Regions from separate parts of the Homo sapiens genome. Here regions 1 and 3 are each linked to region 2. Evidence: promoter capture Hi-C in human tissues and cell types (Jung and others, 2019). All regions are on one chromosome and are shown on one strand. The core of a region is centred on a gene start or on the middle of the fragment in contact, and the rest is flanking DNA. Distances in the headings are between cores, read along the strand shown. Region 1 overlaps PPIP5K1 (diphosphoinositol pentakisphosphate kinase 1). Region 2 holds the start of ZSCAN29 (zinc finger and SCAN domain containing 29). Region 3 has its middle 7.0 kb from the start of STRC.

Evidence for each region. The method cuts DNA at HindIII sites, captures the fragments that hold promoters and counts their contacts. A contact is called where the count stands out against the background at its distance.
Region 1: a contact is called between a fragment that was not itself captured here and the fragment with the promoter of ZSCAN29 in region 2, in 1 of the 25 tissues and cell types used here (spleen).
Region 3: a contact is called between a fragment that was not itself captured here and the fragment with the promoter of ZSCAN29 in region 2, in 1 of the 25 tissues and cell types used here (spleen).

The regions. Positions count from the first base shown.
Region 1 is chr15:43,532,712-43,535,411 of GRCh38, reverse strand. PPIP5K1 (diphosphoinositol pentakisphosphate kinase 1) reads left to right here. Exons shown (of 32, transcript NM_001394395.1): 32 at 1-1,937. The coding sequence ends at 738. Among named protein-coding and RNA genes, the nearest start is that of MAP1A, 16 kb to the right of the region's middle. The HindIII fragment of the contact is 7,344 bases long and covers 1-2,700 here.
Region 2 is chr15:43,369,638-43,372,337 of GRCh38, reverse strand. ZSCAN29 (zinc finger and SCAN domain containing 29) reads left to right here and starts at 1,295. Exons shown (of 6, transcript NM_001372080.1): 1 at 1,295-1,780; 2 at 2,313-2,700. The coding sequence starts at 2,425. TUBGCP4 (tubulin gamma complex component 4) reads right to left here and starts at 1,237. Exons shown (of 18, transcript NM_014444.5): 1 at 906-1,237. The coding sequence starts at 983. RefSeq lists an enhancer at 1,107-1,226 and a silencer at 1,327-1,596. The HindIII fragment of the contact is 7,589 bases long and covers 1-2,700 here.
Region 3 is chr15:43,624,421-43,627,120 of GRCh38, reverse strand. No RefSeq gene overlaps it. Among named protein-coding and RNA genes, the nearest start is that of STRC, 7.0 kb to the right of the region's middle. The HindIII fragment of the contact is 5,185 bases long and covers 1-2,700 here.

The DNA of each region.
Region 1 (2,700 bases), core at 15-2,514, 160 kb before region 2:
AACTCCCAATTTGGCTTCAGTGATCAACCCTCCCTAAATTCACACGTGGCTGAAGAACATCAAGGCCTTGGGCTGCTCCAGGAGACCCCTGGGAGTGGAGCACAAGAGCTCTCCATAGAAGGGGAGCAAGAGCTTTTTGAACCAAATCAGTCCCCACAGGTGCCACCTATGGAAACCAGCCAGCCATACGAGGAGGTCAGCCAGCCATGTCAGGAGGTCCCTGACATCAGCCAGCCATGCCAGGACATTTCTGAGGCGCTCAGCCAGCCATGTCAGAAGGTCCCTGACATCAGCCAGCAATGCCAGGAGAACCATGACAATGGTAACCACACATGCCAGGAGGTCCCTCACATCAGCCAGCCATGCCAGAAGTCCAGCCAACTGTGCCAGAAAGTCTCTGAGGAAGTTTGCCAGCTATGTCTGGAGAACTCCGAGGAGGTCAGCCAGCCATGCCAGGGGGTCTCTGTGGAGGTTGGCAAGCTGGTCCATAAGTTCCATGTAGGGGTTGGTAGCTTGGTCCAGGAAACCCTTGTAGAAGTTGGCAGCCCAGCTGAAGAGATCCCTGAGGAGGTCATCCAGCCATACCAGGAGTTCTCTGTGGAGGTTGGCAGGCTGGCCCAGGAGACTTCTGCGATCAATCTGTTATCTCAGGGCATCCCTGAGATTGATAAACCATCCCAAGAGTTCCCTGAGGAGATTGATCTGCAGGCCCAGGAGGTCCCTGAGGAGATAAATTAGAAGTCCTGGGTGGTCCCTGAAGTGATTGATCAGCTGCCTGGAGAGGGTATTCCTCAAGCCCAGCATCCATCTGGTGATCCAAACCCTCAGAGCCAGTCTCTAGCCCATGACCAGCACTCACCCCTTCCACCAGCAACATGTGATTAATTTTCTCATTAGTGGTATCACACTATACCAGCCATTTGAGCCAGCAACCTTTTCTGTTGGCTAACTCACTGGCCAGCTCTCACCAGCGGTGTCTGGGGAAGTAGTTCTCTTTGTATGAAGCATACCTGTGCCAGAGCTGTGGTTGAGGAGGAGCCAGTTTTAGGTTCGAAGAAGCCATTGGCTCCTCACTTAGCCATTAGACTTGAATAGGATTTCCTTGGGGTGGGTTGGTCTGTCATTACCCAGCCTTCTCTGAGCATCCTAGGAAATCACAGATTGTTAAAGGAAATGCCGCTTCACTGCTGAAGACACCATCTGGCGACAGCAAATGCAAAAGAGGGGACTCTAGGGTCTTCACTTTTCTGGGGAAATGTTCACGACTTCTCAAGGTACGCTTAGACCATATGTGCATTCAGGGGACTCTTGTCTTTGCCAGCACTCCTCAGGTGAGCCCGGGATGGCTATCTGAAATGTCTGGAAAATAGAGTCCCTTCCCCAAACATCTGACATGGCCACTAAATCTTTAGACTTGCCTTATAGATCCTTCCATATCATCCCCAAGTGCCCCTTCTGCCTCAGTCCTGTTCCTCTGGGCAATAGCTCTAGGGAAAAGTAGGTATTAGACTGCTGTGCAAAATTCAGAGCAACTACTTAAAATGCTCTAGAGGATTCTTAGCCAGTCTGTGAAAGTGGGCCTCCTCTGTGGTGGGGCTGTTTGGCTTAGGAGATGCTGTAGTAGTAGAGATAATCAGGTTCTATTTTAAGCAATCAGCAGAGATCAATATTGTACAGATACAAGCAAAGGTTTAATAAATATATATATATATATTTATTTCTGTAGTTGTGCCAGGGACAGACTGGCCAAAGACCAAACACTGCAGGGTCCCCAAGAAATTTGTCCTTATATCATTGTGTCTGAGGGCCAGATATGATTATGAAGCTTTTTCCAAAGATCCAGGGATGGGAATGGGAGTGGGTAGGAGGGGTAATGCGGTCATTGGAGTCGGGGGCTGGAACATTATGAGTGCTCAATAAATATAAACTAATGAGAATGGTGGTGATGGATGATGGTGATGTCCTTGTGAATTCAAGAATGAATATAGGCTGGGCACGGTGGCTTACACCTGTAATCCCAGCACTTTGGGAGGCCAAGGCGGGCAGATCATTTGAGGTCAGGAGTTGGAGACCAACCTGGCCAACATGGTGAAACCTTGTCTCTACTAAAAACACAAAAATTAGCCAGGCATGGTGGTGGACACCTGTAATCCCAGCTATTCGGGAGGCTGAGACAGGAGAATCACTTGAACCCTGGAGGCAGAGGTTGCAGTGAGCCAAAATCACGCCACTGCCCTCCAGCCTGGGCAAAAATGCAAGACTCTGTCTCAAAAAAAAAAAAAAAGGAATACGACTATGAGTCAATTGTGTCTGTAACTGATTAATCTGAATCGGTCAAAAGCCATTATAGTTGAGCAGGAATGGGCTGTAAAAATACAGAGATCAGGCATCCAAAAATAGACTATAAAAATATAGAGATCAGCTGGGCGTGGTGGCTCACATCTGTCTGTAATCCTAGCACTTTGGGAGGCCGAGGTGGGTGGATCATGAGGTCAAGAGATTGAGACTATCCTGGCCAACATGGTGAAACCCCATCTCTACTAAAAATATAAAAATTAGCTGGGCATGGTGGCACATGCCTGTAATCCCAGCTACTCGGGAGGCTGAAGCAGGAGAATTGCTTGAATCCAGGAGGTGGAGGTTGCAGTGAGCCAAGATCGCGCCACTGCACTCCAGCCTGGTGACAGAATGAGACTCTGT
Region 2 (2,700 bases), core at 46-2,545:
AGACTAAGAATGTACTTTTTCTGCTCTTCCACAGTCTCCTAAGAATCGGCATGTCTTGGTGATCAGACGGACCTAGATTTCAGTCTTGCCACTACTAGGACTGGCCAGCATAAAGTTTTCTGAGCTTCAGTTTGCTCATTTGTTAACTGGTAGAAACAATACCTAAGTGGACTAAATTATTGAGAGCATTAGATAACATTACTGGAAGCAGAAGCAGGTAAAAGTAGTTCAAATACTGAAGCCAGACAGACCTGGCTTCAAAACTAAGCTCTGTTAATTACTAGCTATGACCCCGATAGTTATTTAACTATTCTAAACCTAGCTTAATCTGTAAAATGGATAAGGTGGTTGTGAGGATTAAATAAGATAATGCATACGGAACATCATACATTCCTGGTTACACAAAGGCCCCCTACCAAGTGCTTTACCTAGTGCAGAAATTTTCTGGTAAAGGAGTAATGAGGGAAACACCACACGCTCTCGATTTCATTTATTTCCTTCAACAAACTTTACTGAGCGCTTACCATGTGTTTGGGAGCTGTGTATTTGGCCCAGTACTTCAAAACTCAAACAATGCACGTGTGAAAATAAATAGGAGAAAGTGCCTCCCACACTTCTATATCATTCCCCAGCAACTGTCAGACACCTGGACCTCAGGCCCTTTCCTCGCCCCGCCACAGGTGGGGCTCTTCGAGGTCTGCCCTCCGTTTTCTAGCCTAGGCCCGGCCTCTCTAGGTGTCGCATCAGCCTTGACCCTAAGGGGCTGCCCTCCAGTCACCTGTCCAGGGATACGCCCCCAGCCCTGGAAGCCCCGCTCGCTAGGTCCCTCAGCCTACTCCCCCAGGCGCTGGCTCAGGTCCCCCCTCCTGCGCTCCCTGGTTCCCGCGCTCTGCGCCGGACAGTACCTGCAGGCCACTCCGCTTGTTCCAGGTGAAAATGGACCCAGGGTACCCGCTCAGAGCCAAGAGCAGTTCGTGGATCATTCCCACGGCGGACCTCGAGTCCCTGGTTATGTCACCCCCTCCTCCAGCGCACCTCCAGGCGACCACGAGGGGAGTGCTTCCCCTTCCACACGCGCACCGGCCCCTGGGTCGGGCGGTTTGTGCCGAATCAACCCACCGAGACAATCGCTGCGGCGGAGCGGACGGGAAGCTGGGAAGGGGTCGCGGGGGAGTCCCGGAAGTTCGGCAGCTCAACGGGGTCCACCAGCTACTCCCGCCCGGGCTCTGCGGAGACTGAGTCGCGGTCGCTGCCCTCGCGCATGCGCCCTCGGTGCCCCGAGCCGCCCGCTCGGACTTCCGGTTTGGGAGCTGTACTTGGGAGGCTGGAGAGCCGGGGCCGGGGCCGGGGCCGGGGCCGGGGTCAGGGTCGGACCCCGAGTGGGTGAGGCTGGCCCGGAGGCAAGGATGCGAGGGGGTTGAGGGGCAGCTCGAGAGGGAGACGCTCCCAGGGGTGGGCTGGAGGGCGCCCTCAGGGCGCCTTAGCCGGGTCAGAGGCCTCTGGAGGGACCGCACGACGGCTCCGGGTTACCCGGCCGGAGGGAGCGGAGACAAAAGAGGCCAGAATCCCGCAGCCGCTGCTCCTTGGGCTGAGAGCTCTGCGTCCGCGAACCGGCAGCACCTGGAGCCTCTGGCCGACACCCGAGCCCGTCCTCAGGAAGCCCGTTACTACTGCTCCTCGGATTCCGTCTCTCCTGCCCAATGTGACTCTCCCCAAGCCCCCATGGTCCTCGCTTTGGAGCCAAAACCAGCTTCTCTCCTTGCGCGAGGTTTTCCGACAGGTAGCTCCCTAATCCTTGCTGAGCGGCTACTACTACGCGGGGAAAACAAAGACCCGAGATTCTGGACGTGATTTTTGCCTGGGGTGGGCTTTGGGAGTTGTGCAGCCCGAGGGGGCGGGGCGGACGCAGAAGGCCTCGGGAAGGACTGCGGAGATACTGGGGGAGATCAGCTGCGACCAGCTGGACAGAGGCTTTTTGTTGCCTTCAAGCAGGATGGTGACTTGTCTTTAGATCCTCTCGAACTCCAGCTCTCCTATATGGTTCGGACTCACTGTGCAACATTGGCCAGGGAAGTTAAATGGGATCGGATTTGGAGGAGGTGGGAGAGGGGCAGACAGTACTTTTATTCTCTGCTGCTTCCTGGGGCTGCCCTGGAAGTCAACCAGAAAAGCAGTTTTTGCAAAGTCTATTTACTGAAGATTGTGCTACCTTAGAAGGCCACTCGGAGCACATGGAAAGGCAGGCCAGCTCTGGCAAGACTTTAGACATATGAATGTATTCCTTCTGATAGTGCCATCTTTCTCTGCCCTAGGAAGAAACACCTCTTACAGTCATCTGCAGGGGATTCTCCAAGGACATGGGAAGATAGATGTAAGCCCTGGAACCCAGACTCCTAAGCGAAGGGAAGCTGCATTCTGCTATTAATGATGGCCAAATCAGCTCTAAGAGAGAATGGCACTAACTCTGAGACCTTCCGACAGCGTTTCAGGAGATTCCATTACCAGGAGGTGGCTGGGCCGCGGGAGGCTTTCAGCCAACTCTGGGAACTTTGCTGTCGGTGGCTAAGGCCGGAGGTGCGCACCAAGGAGCAGATTGTAGAACTGTTGGTGCTAGAGCAGTTCCTGACCGTCTTACCTGGGGAGATCCAGAATTGGGTACAGGAACAATGTCCAGAAAATGGAGAGGAGGCAGTGACTCTC
Region 3 (2,700 bases), core at 171-2,670, 250 kb before region 2:
GTGAGACCCCATCACTACCAAAAAAAATAAAAAAGGAACATTAGCTGGGTGTGGTGGCATGTGTCTGTGGTCCCAGCTACTCAGGAGGCTGAGGTGGGAGGATGGCTTGAGCCTGGAAAGTCAAGGCTGCAGTGAGCTGTGAATGAGCTACCACACTCCAGCCTCCTAATAATCCAAACAAATTATTAGAAGAAAAGAAGGCTGGAGACAGAAACCCGAGAAACAGAAACGTTTAAAAGATAGAAAGAGAAGGCCGGGCATTGTGGCTCACGCTTGTAATCCCAGCACTTTTGGGAGGCCGAGGCGGGCGGATCACGAGGTCAGGAGATCCAGACCACGGTGAAACCCCGTCTCTACTAAAAATACAAAAAAATTAGCCGGGCCTGGTGGCGGGTGCCTGTAGTCCCAGATACTCGGAGAGGCTGAGGCAGGAGAATGGCTTGAACCTGGGAGGCGGAGCTTTCAGTGAGCCGAGATCGCGTCACTGCACTCCAGCCTGGGTGACAGAGAGAGACTCCATCTCAAAAAAAATAATAAAATAAAAATAAGTATAGAGGCCAGGCGCAGTGGCTCACACCTGCAATTCCAGCACTTTGGGAGGCTGAGGTGGGCGGATCACGAGGTCAGGAGTTCGAGACCAGCCTGACCAACATGGTGAACTCCCATCTCTACTAAAAATACAAAATTTAGCTGGGTGTGGTGGCACACACCTGTAATCCCAGCTACTCAGGAGGCTGAGGCAGGAGAATCGCTTGAACCCAGGAGATGGAGTTTGCAGTGAGCCGAGACTGTGCCACCGCACTCCAGCCTAGGCGACAGAGCGAGACTCCATCTCAAAAAAAATATATAGAATCTCAGGCCTCATCACCCAGGCCTATTGAATCAGGTGATGTAGCTGCACATAAAAGATTCAGAAGTGGCCGGGTGTGGTGGCTCACGCCTGTAATCCCAGCACTTTGGGAGGCTGAGGCAGGTGAATCATGAGGTCAGGAGTTCAAGAGATGGTGAAACCCTGTCTAATAAAACTACAAAAATTAGCTGGGCGCAGTGGCAGACGCCTGTAATCCCAGCCTCAGGAGGCTGAGACAGGAGAATCGCTTGAATCTGGGTGGCAGAGTTTGCAAAAAAAAAAAAAAAAGATTCAAAAGCACTGCTTTATAGGTATTTGATGAATATTCCCTCCTTCCCCTTTTTTCCTCCAACACTACACAGATGTGCCCTTCTGACTTTCTTTTGTTTTCTTTTCTTCCCTTTTTCCCTCCCTAGCTCCCTTCCTTTCTCTCTCTCTCTCTCTCTCCCTCTCTCCCCTGCCCCCTCTTTTTTTCTTTCTTTTTCCCACACAGAGCTGGCTGTGCAGGAAACTGGAGTTTTCTTATTATTACTCAAATTAGTCTGTTCTGACATTTTCGAGATGGAGTATCACTCTGTCGCCCAAGCTGGAGTGCAGTGGCACAATCTATGCTCATTGCAACCTCTGCCTCCTGGGTTTAAGCGATTCTCGTGCCTCAGCCTCCCAAGTAACTGGGACTAGAGTCACGCCACCACGCCTGGCTAATTTTTGTATTTTTAGTAGAGACGAGTTTTTGCCATGTTGGCCAGGCTGGTCTTGAACTCCTGGCCTCAAATAATCCGCCCCTCCTTAGCCTCCCAAAGTGCTGGGATTACAGGCGTGAGCTACTGTTCCCTGGCCCCCTCCTGACTTCCTATAGCTGATCTGTGGTCTGTGCGTTCTGCATTTTATTCTTTAACTCTTTCCTCAGTGAAAACAATCTGGCTTTAATTCTACAGGAATGGAAGTTTATTCAACAAATTTGTTGAGTTTGTACATTCCAAACATTGTTCTAGACACTTGGGATATATCAGTGAATGAACAAAACAGAAATCCCTGTCCCTCCTAACTAGTTCCTCATATGATCAAATAATAAAACGTCCGTGAAGATAGTAATTTTATCTCCTCCCCTGTTTTGTGGTTGTTGTTTATTTGGTTTGGTTTGGTTTCTGAGACAGGGTCTTGCTCTTTCACCCAGGCTGGAGTGCAGTGGTGCAGTCATAGCTCACTGCAGCTTTGATCTTCCAGGCTCAAGTGACTCTCCTGCCTCAGGCTCTCAAGTAGTTGGGACTACAGGTGCATACCACCACACCCGGCTAAATTTTTTAATTTTTTGTAGAGATGGGGGTCTCGCTGTGTTGTAATACGTCCAAAACTGAACTTATTACCACTTCTTCAAACCTGTTCTTCCTATTCTAATCTCAAGAACTGCTAAACAGTTTCTATGGGCTGGGGGAGTCCTCAAAGATCTCCTTGCTGCTTAACTTTTTCTGTATTTTGTTTGAAGGTCTTTCACTTAAGATGCTATTTCTTGTACCAATTTTTGTATTAAGATTCTTTAAGTTGGCAAGGCGCAGTGGCTCACGCCTGTAATCCCAGGACTTTGGGAGGCCAAGGCAGGCAGATCACCTGAGGTCAGGAGTTTGAGAGCAGTCTGGCCAACATGGAGAAACCCCGTCTCTACTGAAAAATACAAAAAACATCTGGGCATGGTGGCTTGCACCTGTAATCCCAGCTACTGAGGCTGAGGCAGGAGAATCGCTTGAACCTGGGAGGCGGAGGTTGCAGTGAGCCGAGATTGTGCCATTGCACTCCAGCCTGGGCATCAACAGCAAAACTCCATCTCTAAAAAAAAGAAAAGATTCTTTTTT